Regions from separate parts of the Homo sapiens genome. Here region 2 is linked to region 1. Evidence: promoter capture Hi-C in human tissues and cell types (Jung and others, 2019). All regions are on one chromosome and are shown on one strand. The core of a region is centred on a gene start or on the middle of the fragment in contact, and the rest is flanking DNA. Distances in the headings are between cores, read along the strand shown.

The links. Contacts are between HindIII fragments. The study calls those that stand out against the background at their distance.
Region 2: a contact is called between a fragment that was not itself captured here and the fragment with the promoter of ZMYND8 in region 1, in 1 of the 25 tissues and cell types used here (spleen).

Annotation. Positions count from the first base shown.
Region 1 is chr20:47,353,002-47,359,785 of GRCh38, forward strand. It overlaps ZMYND8 (zinc finger MYND-type containing 8), which reads right to left and starts at 3,698. Exons shown (of 23, transcript NM_001281775.3): 1 at 3,656-3,698. The coding sequence starts at 3,669. LOC101927377 (a long non-coding RNA gene) reads left to right here. Exons shown (of 2, transcript NR_134501.1): 2 at 4-1,632. RefSeq lists enhancers at 3,509-3,678, 3,522-4,129, 3,664-3,958, 4,709-5,058, 4,738-5,343 and 5 more and a cis regulatory region at 5,805-6,018. The HindIII fragment of the contact is 5,862 bases long and covers 2,314-6,784 here.
Region 2 is chr20:48,739,669-48,746,452 of GRCh38, forward strand. PREX1 (phosphatidylinositol-3,4,5-trisphosphate dependent Rac exchange factor 1) reads right to left here. Exons shown (of 40, transcript NM_020820.4): 3 at 5,357-5,479. Among named protein-coding and RNA genes, the nearest start is that of PREX1, 85 kb to the right of the region's middle. RefSeq lists an enhancer at 924-1,033. The HindIII fragment of the contact is 5,679 bases long and covers 1-5,516 here.

The sequences.
Region 1 (6,784 bases), core at 2,448-4,947:
CAGAGTCAACCAGAGGCAAAGCCAGATTGAGGGTTCCCAGGCTGACAAATGTCTGCTGCCTCTGCCACAGGAGAGAGAAGGGGAAAGAGGGCAAAAGAAACAAAGACATCACGCGTTGCAAGTGGCTGGACTTTTAAAAACCTACCTTTGCCTCCAGGGTTTTCTAGGTTACTGTCACCCCACTTCCTAAAAAGTGTCTCCCCCCTCATCCTATTTAAGACCTGATGCAGTCTCCCCACTGGTTCTCCCAGGGAAAGAAAAGGGGAAATGTTTTGTTGAAAATAAAAGGGATGACAAGAAAGAAAGGAAAAAAAGCTATTGTTTTCATCCCTAATTTATAATCCAAGAGGCCCCCAATTGTTTCTTTCTGACTCAAATCTTTGAGCTGTTAATTATAAAAGTAACTGGACTTGGCGCCAACGGGCTAACTATGATCAGGCTCAGCAATTAGAAAAACTCTGTAGAAAGTTTACTGAGTGATTATATATAATTAATTCCTAGTTACAGACTGAACACTGACCATTTTCTGGAGCTAATAAAAGCAGTTACTCCCCCTCCCCCACGTGAATGCCACTTAATTTCCCAAAGCAGAAAGTGAATCCATCCTGGAGGGTCTTGAAGGAAAAAAAAGGAGAGGAATCAAAAGCTTCAGTGTGTCTGTGTTTGCTCCTTGCAGCTGTGTATCCTCTTTGGGGACTGAGGAGGCAGAAGGAAAAAGGAAAACAGCCCAACATTCTGTTCCTCCTTCTGCAATTTACAAACGTGGCAGAGAGAACATTCTACCTTGATGAGAAAAAGAAGGGGGGTTGGGGGGAAGCAGGGAAGGGAGATGACCTAGGAATGGAAGGTAGGAGACGCTTCTGCTTGGCAGATCTGCTTTTCCTAAAAGGAACAAAGATGGTAGAAATTTCCAGAAGGCCCGTTCTTAGTTCGGCCACTGCAATTGTCAATCTTTAACCTTTCCTCCAAGTCTATTGGTTTAAAAGCTAGAGTAGAAGAACCCCATTGGGCTGCTCTGGGAGCCAGTACTGCCGTCCCTACCTAGTCCTGCTGCAATGCAGACATTTATTTTTTTCCCCCTTTCCTGAAACTGGAAAATAATGCTACTTTGAAAGCAATTAACTTTTTACAGACTCATGCTTGGTAGGGGTCACAGTACCAGAGGAAAAGTGGCTAGCTTGGTCCAGGGTTGGGAACTTGCTGGGGGCTGTACATTTGAAAACAGATCTTGGCTCTCCAAACCTGTGGGAGCCATTTTAATGCAAGCTTTTAGAGGACAAATGCCTTGCCCTTAAGTTCCCTTCCAGCCCAACAAACACAGTATTATGCAAACGTTGAAGGCACCAAACCAGGAGTCTTATGATTAGATATTGCTTCTAGGGAGGCCACAAGAACCTCGATATGTAATTTCCATTTACAGCAAGGAGATAAGAACAAAGAAAATAGCTGAGTGTCTGAACTTACTTGTTTGGGGCAGTGGCACTGTTCAGTTTTAAGTATATAACATCATTAACTGCCTGCAGTTTTACTCTAAGAAGCTAAGCTGGCCTGCCTTGCACAGACTTTTCTCAACTTAGAATGTGGTACGTTTCTGCTGATTAAATGAGCCTTTTTCCAATTCGGTGTCAGAAAGTGGGCTACTGGACACTCATTTGAAAGAAAAAAGATTACTGACTCCATAAAGTTGACATAACACAGCAATTGAATATATTTCCTGCATTTACGGTCATGTCGGATTGGTCTCCAAGCTGAAAATTTATGTACTGAACTTCTAGGGAAATTCTGAAGGTACTGCTAAACAAGACTCTACTTTTCCCACTTAACTTCTAGCTGCAGCCTTAAGTGGTCAAGGGAAATGTAAAAAGTGAGAAATCTTATGTGGGGCCAGCATGCATACAGATGTGTGGAGGAGACCTGAAAAAAGGCCAAAATGTGTTGGTCAGTGAGTCCTGAATCAAACCCAGTCTGGTGGTAGATGAGATTTTGCACTATACATAAGTCCTAAAACATGAGCACACTGACACCACCCCCCCAACACACACATACCACCACCACCACCAGCTTCTACACCACCAATGTTTTTAGGGCTCTGCACCTCTAAGAACAAGCAGTTTCATGACATTTCACAAGCACATCACCTACTCACAGTTTGAATATCCAAACAAACCCCATTAAAGGTCTAGAGTCAAGTCACAATGAACTGAACATTTCTCCCCTGACTCAGGGTAAACAGGAAGTATAATCTTCAATCCTAGCTGCAGGTTATCAGGAAAAACAGTGGATTCAAACAGTCACCTAAAATCAAGACACTCTTTAAAAAGCCCTTATTTTGTTCCTGCTAATGAAGCCCCCAACTCCTGTAGCCAAGACCCACTATTACAAACAGACCCCAAATGTTCGCAAAACTCTTCAAACATGGTCACAGAGGAAATGGATTGCTTTACTTACCCAACAAATGTTCAAGCAACCGTCTCATTTTTCCACAGTTAGGAAGAGAGAACAGGCTGGCAGATTTGGGACTTGATCAAAAAGGAAATTTTTTTAAACAGTTACATGGTATTATTAAAAACACACACAACAACAACAACACAACCCAACAACTGAATATGGAATGCTGTCATGAGCCACAGACATGATTTTATTTCCTCTACACTCCATGACACAGGAGAAGAGAGGAGGATACAATGTATAAAAGGGACAGGAAAATGAAAACAAGGATAAAAGGTAACATTAGTTCCTTGAAAATCATGCAAGAGTAGAAAGCTAAGGGATTCAGAATCCTTGCAGATTTTTTTTTTTTTTTTTTTTTGCAGGATGTTGTCCAAGATCTCTCCCCCCACCCCCCAGTCCCCATCCCTACTCCAAAAAACTTCCTCCAAAGCCTAGAAAACACTTTCAGAAACATTTGCTGGCTGTAGGCTGGCTTGCAGAACACTCTGTAGCAACCTAAGTCAGGAAAACAGGCTGAACAATGTAGTTTCAAGTGCAGAAGCTCTGTAGAATAAGAGAAGACCGTGTACAGACACCACCACCCACCTAGGCCCCAGGAGCTAGACTCTCCTTAGCACTGCTCTGCTGAGGGCACAATTCTTTTGCAAACACGCTCCTCTCTTGTCAAAACTTATCCAGCCTTCCCAGAACCTCTTTGGAGAGGCAAACTTGCCTGCTCTGCTGTCTGCCATGAGCTCTCCTTGGAGAGGAGCCTGTTTGCTTACCTTCCATTTTCTTCCCCCAGCAGGGCATGTGGCAAAAGAGAAGACAATAGTGCAGGGGTGGGAGGGGGGGAACTGCTCAGAGAGAGAGAGAGGGGAAGAGAGAGGGAAGAGGGAAAGAAAAAAAAAAAAAGAAGGAAAAAAAAAAGCTTCTTTTTTGGCATACCAGGATCTAGCTTCAAACTCTTCCAGAAACACCATGCCCTGGTGGAAGGAAAGGTGTGCCAGGCCCTTGCCAGTTTGCAAAATCAAGCTATGGCTAATGGCTACTGAGCCATGTGACCCAAGAAAGCAAAAAAATTCTCTCTAAACAGTTCCAAGTTAACATAAGTGCTCTGGGGGTGAGTGTGGCACGGCCAGCCACAGAGAAATCACACTGCTCGCCCACAATTCGGATGTCTCAGAGGGAGGGGGAAAAAAGATGGTTAAAAAGTCGAGCTTACCTCTGTGGATGCATTGTTAACACTGTGTAATGTCAATACTTATAAAACATGGAGGACAGGCTCCTAGTTCTCACAGAAAAAGGGTTTGGCACTTCGGCTGATGATCTGGCCGCCTAATAAAAGCTCATCCCCGATTGGCTGCCCCGGCAAATCGGAGTGTAAAGCCGCCCCGGATTGGCTGAAACACTTCCTGAGCGATTATCTTTGTGAGGCTCGGGTGAGCAAGAGCCATCCTGTGCATAGAAAAAGACAGGCTAAGCTAGGCCTTTTGCAGCAAGAAAAACTTGGGAAAGGGGCCCCCACACGCACTTCTCCTGCACCCTGGCTAGATTTCCCGGCACGGGCCAGCCAGGGCAGCCAGCCTGACCTGCTCCAGGAAAGCCTGAGGCCCGGAGGTCCCTGGGAAGGGAGTTTCTTGGAGTGGGCTGGAACGGCTCACCCTCACCTGCCCCCAGAGAAACGGCCCTTGTCCAGGGAGGAAGGCCAGCCTTTTTCTAGAACAGTCCAGCAGGGTGGCTCTCCAAGGGGAAGGGGAAGCTGGGGAGTGGGGAGTCCCGGGGAAACAGCCAAGGGGCCAGAAAAAGGGGCTTGAGGCAGGCCTCTGAGAAGCTGGGGGAAGCAGGCAGCCCGGGGGAGCCCCGAAAAATCAGCAGAGAGCAGCCCTGGCTTCTCAGAGGAGCGAGGAGTAGCTGCTGAGGGGAGGAGGGGAGCAGAGTGGTCAAGTTTGCATAGTCATTGTCCCCATGCCTCCTTGCAAGGCAGGCCAGGGAGCCGTGGGCCTCTCGCGCCCTGCTTAGCCAGTCCTGCAGGCAAAATCAACGTGGGTTCCTGTCGCCCTGCCACGATGCCAAGGGGGACCCCTCTCGGTCCTTACCCTAAGAAAAACCCAAAGCCCTCCTCGCAGGCCACATGCCTGGATCTACAAACTTCCCTTCCCTCCCGGCCCCTCCCCCGCGGCCGAGACCTGCTAAACCTGTCAGTTAAACACAAATCTGACTTCCGTATTAGCCTGCGATGCCTTCGGCTTCCTGCCTGTTAACCCTCTCTCGGACTCGGGGCCTGGCTGGGAAAAACTAGGCCTTGAGATCGCAGCGAAGGCCTGTGGAAAAATACCAGCTGCAGCTCTCCCGGCAGATGCAGAAAGAGAGAGAGAGAGCCGCTGTCTCTCAGCCTTTGCTTCCCAGGGAGGCGTGTACCTTGTGAATCCAGGGCACAGGCAGTGCCTCTCGGGCTGAGAAGCCATTTCAATCCAGAGGGAGACAGAAAGATGGCACGCTCAGCCCGGAAACAAGAGCCCCCATTATGCGTCAGGCCTACCCCCGTAGGTCAGCCCTTCCTGCCACAATCATCCCTGTATGTGTGTGCCTGGGGGAGTTGGGCCCTCCTCGGTGGGCAGACAAATCCCCTGGGCTTCCTAAGGATTCTTGCTTCCATTTATTTGCACAGAGAACGGCTTCTTTTCGTCCCCCAAGGCAGATGGAGCAGCGATTTCACACACAGCCCTCCATTTGGCAGCCCCCCCACCCCCCCATCTCTGGCACCGCTCCCCAGTAAAATATTAACTGGTTGTTCAGAGCTGCTTACAATTCTACCCACTTCAATTGCGTTAGGAGGTCTTTGCTGGTCTCCTCCCTAAAGCTGCCTTCGCAGTTGGTCTGTACCCAGAGATAGAAAAGGACCGTAAAATGTCCCCAGCTTTCTCGCTCTCTTTCCTTCTTCGGCATTTTAAATGACAAGGTGCTTAATTAACAGGATTTTTTAAAACAGCAACCTGGAACCACAGAAGCTAAATAAACACCATTCTTTAGAGGCTGGAGAAAGCGTCCAGAGTTAACGCAGCCATATGCCAGGAGGCATAACTCCGGAGCAATAAAGTCTCCCCTCTCCTCCTAAAATTAGGACTTGTGGGCTTTCTTGTCCCACACGGTTCCCACAAAGAAAACGAAGAGCTGATGGCTTGCTTTCCCTGCCCCCCCCCAACCCCCACATGGACAACAGATGCCCACTGCTTGTACATAAATTCTTCCTGGCCGGGAATCTCATATCAAACAGGCTCAGGAACGAGCTGGGAATCGAAACTCACTGTACGGCAGGGCAGGACCCAGGCTTTATAAAAACGGACAGGATGTTGCTGTTGTTACTGTTTTAGGCTGCTGAGGCCAAGCTGCAGGGAGGGACAGCTCCATGGCCACCCAACCTGACAAAGCTCCAGGGCTCAGGACAGCAGGCCTGGGCCTCACCAAAAGGGAGGGGCCTGCTCTTCCTGGAGGTAGAAAGCTGCATGGGGAGACTAAATGGGAGGAGGCGAGAGGTGGAGGCCACAGTGAAGCAGTGCGTGCTCACCCTCCTAGCTGTGTGGGCAGCGGCCCTCCACCGCCATCCCATATGGAATGCTGTTTGTTTCTGCGGGTGCTGCTTTGAGGGGAACAAACAGGACTGTGGGGTTGGTGGCAGATCTCCCATGCAGCTAAGTCCACGAACCAATGAGGAAATAAAATATGCCGCTGGTGTGCGTGGTGGATTTTAACCTGGGATTAAAGCTTGTTGCATAAGCAGCTACAGCATCCTCCCCGCCTCCCTCCCTCTCTCTGATCACTTGATCACTTGAAATGTTTTCTGGGGCAAAGAGCAGGAAGCTGCTGGCTTATTCTGGCAGCTCTGCTCTGTTTGAGGAATGCTGTTGGCATTCGGGTAGGTCTGAGGTTATCTGGAAAACAGCAATTCGGCTGGGGACAGACACAAAAGTATGGTGGCAGATGGAATCCTGGGAGGAACACAGATTGAAAAGAAAGCCTGGGGCAGGCCTACGAAGGGCTGGTCCTGGGCTTCATGGAATGTGGCTGATAAGCAGGAAATAAAACCAAATGTTGCAGGTCTCAATCTAGAAATCCATTCAGCAGCTCCTCTTAAAGCCCCACTGCAGTGAGTATCCCAGCAGTTACTTCTAAATTAGTGCTTTACATAGACTGATTCCTGAAGTAGGTGGCATTGTTAGAAACCTGGAACTAAGCCCAGAGAGGTGAAGTGAGCTGCCCAAGGTCACACAGCTGGGAAGTGCCAGAGATCAGATGTCCACCCCGTTAGCACTTCACATCCCTAAACTCTGTACCTTCTCCTGGCTCTAAAGAA
Region 2 (6,784 bases), core at 1,427-3,926, 1.4 Mb after region 1:
TCCCCAGGGTCTAGTGCAGAGCCTGGCACACAGGAGATGCTTACTATGTATTTCAGGAGACCTCATCACATAAGAGTAAAAAACACAGACTCTACAGCCTGACTGTGTCAGCTCAAATCCTGGCTCTGATGCTTCCTAGCTCTGTAAGCTTGCCCTATAACTTAATCTCTCTGGGCCTTGGTTTCCTCATCTGTAAAATGGGTACAATAATAGTAACCACCTTTAAAGAGTGTTGTGAAGTTTTAATGAATGCATATCTGTAAGGCACAGAGAACAGAACCCAGCACAAAGAAAATGTCCACTCGGTGCTAGTTTATGATAAACTCAGTAGTTAGTGGTTGGGTTTTGGGGAAAGGGGGTGAGGGACTCTTCCCCCATCTGATCAGTTAGGTGACACTAGCGGGCTGGACTGTGGGCCAGGGCCCCTTCCTCTCCTGGAGAGCCTGTCTGCAAGAGCTCTGTTCCCGATTAGCATCTCACCAGCCCAGATGCTGCCATGGCCATGGGAAAATGTTTCCAAGCAGGGAGTAAATGGAGTAAACAAGCCTGGGAAGGAGAGTGGACCCAGCACCTCTTTCCTTTGGGGCTGCAGTGGATGCCATGGTGCACTCCTCAAATGCCTGTCACAGAGACAGAGACACCCCTTACCCCAGGTGCTGGGAGTGCTGGCTGACAATGACCCTCAGCTAAGGCCCTCTCCTAGAGCTGCCTTCAGCCTAAGAGGGCCACCTGTCTGAGGCGGTACACCCACTCCTGAGGACAGCCCACTGGGCAACAAGGGTGCAAAGGCCTTGCCCACTTGCTGCAATTGTGCATAATCTGAAGAGCTATCCTAGTTCCAGAGTTCCTTCCAGATGGGACTATCAGTGGCTGGGGTGGAGCCTCTGCAACCTCTCCTTTAGCTGCTTCCAAGGGCCCACCTGTGTGCAAATCGCCAGCTTCCAGAAACCCAACCTACAGAGGTGTGGCCTTTAAAACTCCTGAGACAGACTGACTCAACCTATCCTCCGTGAGCAGGCAGGAAGAGGCGTGATAATTTTAATTTTTAATTAAAAAGATGATTTTAAATTAAAAAACACTGTATCACACACTGAGAACGCTGGCTCCTTTTTCAATAGGTCCAGTTAGCTCAAGGAGGGTCTTAGCTGGTGTGATGTAAGCAGCCTCAGGCTGAAAGGCTCAAGTAGTTAAGAGTTTCTAGATAGAATGCGGTAATACCGTTTGGTTTCTACTGCATTTATTTTGACAATTACCTTCTATTTATAGCACTCATTTTCTATTTTCAATGATGATGCAAATTTCTCTTTTTAAATAAGTTCACTGAAGTTTTGTTAAGTGAATCAATTTTTTTTTTTTTTGAGACGGAGTCTCACACTGTTGCAGGGGCTGGTGTGCAGTGGCACAATCTCGACTCACTGCAACCTCTGCCTCCCGGGTTCAAACGATAAGTGAATCAATTTTTTAAAGCATTAAACAAATAATAATACAAAGAATACTCAGATATAGCAAAAATTACAAACTTAGCGTGTGAGCTGAACTGAAGAACACTGGCTTAGCCCTTAGGATGGCCTAAAGCCCACTTCTGCGGCTGGCACAGTCGTGACCTTGAGCTTAACCTTTCTCTCAGTTTGCTTGCATGTCCAGAGGGCAAGTGAGCTTGGGGCTCGATTTTTTTTTTATTTTATTTTTTGTTTTGTTTTGTTTGTTTTCAGACAATGTCTCACCCTGTCACCCAGGCTGGAGTGCAGCGGCATGATCTCAACTCACTGCAGCCTCAACCTCTTGGGCTCAAGCAATCCTCCCACCTCAGCCTCTCAAGTACCTAGAACTACAGGTGCACATTACCATGCCCGGCTAAGGGGCTGAACTATTTCTGATGCAGAGACAGAGCAGTGAACATGACAGAGTCCCTGTCCTCATGTTGTTTATATTCTAGGGAGAGACAGACAATAAGCAAAAAGGGGCAAAAGATCCGATGTGTCAAAGGGTGATGCGGACTGTTCTGTTGAGAATGACAGAGTAGGGGAGGGGCGCGGAAGGGCAGGAGTGCAGCAACTTAAACAGGAGGGCATGGAGGCCTTTGCGGAGAAGATGGCATTTCCAAAAAGCTTTCAAGGCAAGAAGGGAGAGAGCCGCAGGGATGTCTGAGGGAACTGGTCCAGCAGAGGAAGCGGCCTGGGGTGAGAATGGGCTTGCCATGTTCTGGAACAGCGAGGAGATCCGTGTGGCTAGAGCCAGGGGAGCAAGTTCCGAGGAATGAACAGGGCCTGGCGGGCTGTGGGGATTTTATTCCAATGAGGCAGGAACCTTTGGAGGGTGCTGGGAGAGGGGTTGAAGAGATCTGATTGATGTTTCCAGCAGGTCTCTCTGTTGGCTCAGGGGAGAACCAATCTCCAAAATACTTCATCTCTGTCAAAGCCTCCGACATTCATCCTTGTGCCCGGGCATCACAGCAGCTTTGTGAGGCTGGAAGGACGGGAGCCCTGCTGAGGTGCAGGGGGGCTCATGATAGATCGCCTGGAATGGGGCTCAGTGATCCCAGGTCTGGGCACCCTGCACAAAGTCACACTCCAGAGAAGCCTGGGAGGTGCCAGAAAGCGCTGGATCACGTGAACAGATGCGCACATTACCCAAGTGAGAAACAATTCCTGAGCACTTATTATGTGCCAGGTTCTACCAACGTCATTCATTCTCTCAACCACCCTAGAAGGTGAGTTTTGTGATACCCACTTTACAGATGAGAAAACTGAGGCACAGAGAGGTAAGGTCATTCTCCCAGGATCCCAGAGCAAGGAAGTAGCAGAGCTAGGATGCAAAGTCGAGCAGCTGGGCTCTAAAATGCTTGATCTCCCAGGCCCAGGGAGGATGCCAGGAAGGCCCCAGCACAGAACAACTTCCCACAAAGGCCTAAACATCCACCCTCCACACGTCATGACTCTGATGGTAAGTGCAGCCTTCACCAGGTGCCTAGTTTGATGAGGCTACATGAGGAGGGTCCCAGGTAGCAGAAGAGAGGACACGGAAAAGAGGTTGCTTCATGCACACTGAACTCCCCGTCCCCAGCCCCCCAGCCCTCCGCTGCATCTCTGAGCAAGTCAGGAATCCTGCAGAAAGAGAGAGGTGAGAATAGCCCCGCTGTGTCCTCAGGGTCCAGGGCTCCTCACTGACAAGCGAGTTAAACCCACTTCCCCACAGCCTCTGGGGCTCAGACAGAGAAGCCAAAGGAATGAGGGGGGCCAGGGCTTTTGGCAAACTGGACAGTGCACCTTGAGGACCCTTTCTCCCACTTTTGCTAAGTATAGGCAATCCTAAGCAAGCTCGGATCATGACATCACAGCCAACCCCAAGCCCACCCCCTCCAGGAAGCAGGCCGGAGTAACACTCACAGCTGACACGCGGCATTAGCTTGGTGCTGAGCCAGGTCATTCATCCTCATGACAGCCCCCTGCAGCAGGAATTGTCGTTACCCCCACTTTACAGAGTTGGAGACTGAGGCCCTGAGAGGTGAAAGGACTTGCCCAAGGTCACTGGGCTGGCGAGCAGTAGAACAGGGATTTGAACGTTGGCTGTTGGCTCCAGAGAAAAAGCACTTCCTGTCTCCTCTGAACCCAAAGGAAAGACTGTCCCTCCCATCCTTTTCATTTTCCTATTCAAACACCTTTACTGCACACTGTGGCCACTTGCCCCTTCTCACCATCTCCACTGCTACCATGCTGGTCCGAGGCACCGTCATCTCACTTGGTGGGGTAACCTCTTAGATGTCTCCCGGCTTCCAGTTCTCCCTCCACAGCTACTCCCCCTCACAGCAGCCAAAGGGCCTGTGGACCACTTCCCTCCTCTGCTCAATGCCCTCCGCTAGCACCCAGCCCACCTGCGCCCCATTGTGCTCTTATTTGTCCAATTCCAAAGATGGAGGAGCGTCCGCTATGTGAATAGGAAGATAACGTCGACATTTATTGAGCACTTACTGTGCCAGGAGCTGCACTGAGCAGGCTCCTTGTATTATCTTGCTTAATCCTCACAATGTCCTGGATTTATCCCGTTTATGGGTAAAAGGACAATGAGGCACAGACAAGATCAGTCAACTTGCTGAGAGGACCACAGTTCATGAGTGGCTCAGCAGCCTGGCCAGAAGCTCTCCTTGCCCTCACTTTCACGTAGAGAGTGGCTGGCCCTTGGCTGAATGACTGCATCTTGGGGTAGTCTGCACGCCTGATCGCACATGAGACTTGCCCCCCATTGCCCTCTGAGGGCAAAGTCACACAGCTCCATCATCTTAGGCTCTAGCCACTCAGATGTGATCCCTTGGAGAAGTGAGTTAGTGATGATGATGATGATGATGATGATGATGATGATGATGATGATGAGTTAACAGTGGCCGAGTGCTGATACACCAAAGTTTCTCCACCTTGGCACCACTGACATTTGAGGTCAGATGATTCTCTGTTGTCGGGGCTGTCATGTGCATTATAGGATGTTTGGTGGCATCCCTGGCCTCTACTTACTAGAAACCAGTAGCACTCTAGAGCTAGGACAACCAAAAATGTGTCTGGACATTGCCCATTGTCCCCTGGGGGCCAGAATCACCCCAGCTGAGAAGCTCTGCTCTAGACTCTCTACCCGATTGCTTTACCTCTGAGTCTGGCCATCAACCTTAGGAGGTATACGGAATTGTCCCTACTTTGCAATTACAGGAGGAAATAGAGGCTCAGAGAGGCAAAGGAGTTTGGCTCACATCTCGTGCCCGTGAGGCTAGCTTGGGTTCTTCTGTCTGTGAGGGGGGTCCCAGGTAGTACAGAAAAAGAGGGTATGGAAAAGCAGTTGCCTTCCTTCTTCCAGCCTACCACCCACAATTCCAAATGCGTTAGTAATCTTGCAGGAAGAGAGAGGCTATTGCAACAAGCGTCAGCCTCTCTGACCAACAGCCCAACGGGGCACCCCAGGATCAGACACCCTTACTGTCCAGTGGGTGCCTGAGCCGGGACTCAAACCCAGGTCTGTCTGATGCCAAGTCCATCTCTTCTTGGCCACTAGCTACCTCTGATGGTCACTGTGGCAGAGGGGCCCCGCCAGGCCAGGAGGTCGCAGGACTCCAGGACACATGCATTCAGTGAGGGCCCACCCTCTATGTGGAGCTGAGGGAAAGGAGAGTCACTAAAAATGCCCACAGCCTGCTGGGCCTGACCTACTTCCCATAGTTCCAGGGATGCAGACTGGGCCCACCTGCCCACCTTGCTACCCCATCTCCCAGACAGGCCTACAGAGGAAGCTGGTGAAGGCGGATGGGGCAGGGACCCAGGGAGAAGCCCACTTTTCAAAAACTAGAGTCCACCAGGGGCAGTGGCATGGTACTCACGAATTTTAAGAAAACATTCCCAAGTTCATGCTGAGACTGCGGCTCCGGGTGTAAACAATACTCCAAGGCGGCCAAGAAATCCTTATGAACTTCCAGGATGTCTTCGATGTTCGAGAACAGGACCTGTGAGGAAAAGAGAGGCCAGAGGACAGCGTTAAGGCTCAGAGGGAGAGCAAAGCCAAGCACTGAAAAAATACAAACCTCGGTGCGGGTGACATTGTAGTCAAAGAAGAACTCTCAAACACCGGAACTGGTTTACCACTAATAGAAATCTTTGTAATAACAGAAATATTACCAATATTTATTTACTATAATCGGAATTAGTGACTAATCGTGTGTTAAGAACTTTATACGCATTCATAGAATCTAATCCCCACTGTAAATCTGTGAGATAGAAACTATTGTTATGCCCAATTTACAGATGAAGAACCAAGGCTCAGATAAAATAATATTCCCAAGGTCAAAGTCTTGCAAGCAGCTCCACATTTAGTATGCAGACATTCATCACAGTCAGACACAACTGCTGTGTCCAGCTACAGGACGATGTTGAAATTACAAGTATATTTCCATGCACTCATTAAAATGACGTGGTAGAAGAAAACACAATAAGGAAGGAGGTTAGAAATACGCTGTCTAAACTCTCACAAACAATATATGAGATACCCTGTTTCCCCACATCAATCTAAAAGTGTAAAACACTAATACAATTTGACCCAGCAATCCTACATTTTAGAATTTAACCTTCTGATCAGTTGTTCCCAACAAGGGGCAATTTTACCCACCACCCCGCCACACACACAGGATATGCGGCAATTGTCAAGGGACATTTTTGGTTGTCACAAATTGGGAGGAAAAGGGGTGTTTCGTAGACAGAGGCCAGGGATGCTGTTAACCCTTCCTGCAATGTACAGGACAGACCCCGCAATGAGCAATTATTATTATTACTTTGCCTCTCTGAGTCTTTTATGATTGTATTTTTTAAATTATTATTATTATTTTCTTTTTTAGAGACGGAATCTCGCTCTGTCGCCCAGGCTGGAGTGTGAAGTACAGTGGCACAAACTTGGCTCAGTGCAACCTCCGTCTCCAGGGTTCAAGCAATTCTCCTGCCTCAGCCTCCCGAGTAGCTGGGAATACAGATGCATGCCGCCATGCCTGGCTAACTTTTTTTGTATTTTAGTAGAGACAGGGTTTCACCGTGTTGCCCAGGCTGGTTTCGAACTCCTGAGCTCAGGCAATCTGCCTGCCTCAGCCTCCCAAAGTGCTAGGATTACAGGCGTGAGCCACCTCGCCTGGCCCTCATGATTGTATGTTTTTTAAGAATAGTTGTTAACAGCCAAAAACTGGAAATAACTAAAATATCCATCCACAGGAGAATGGGTAAGTAAACTGTGTTGCATTCCTACAATGGAACACCACACAGCAATG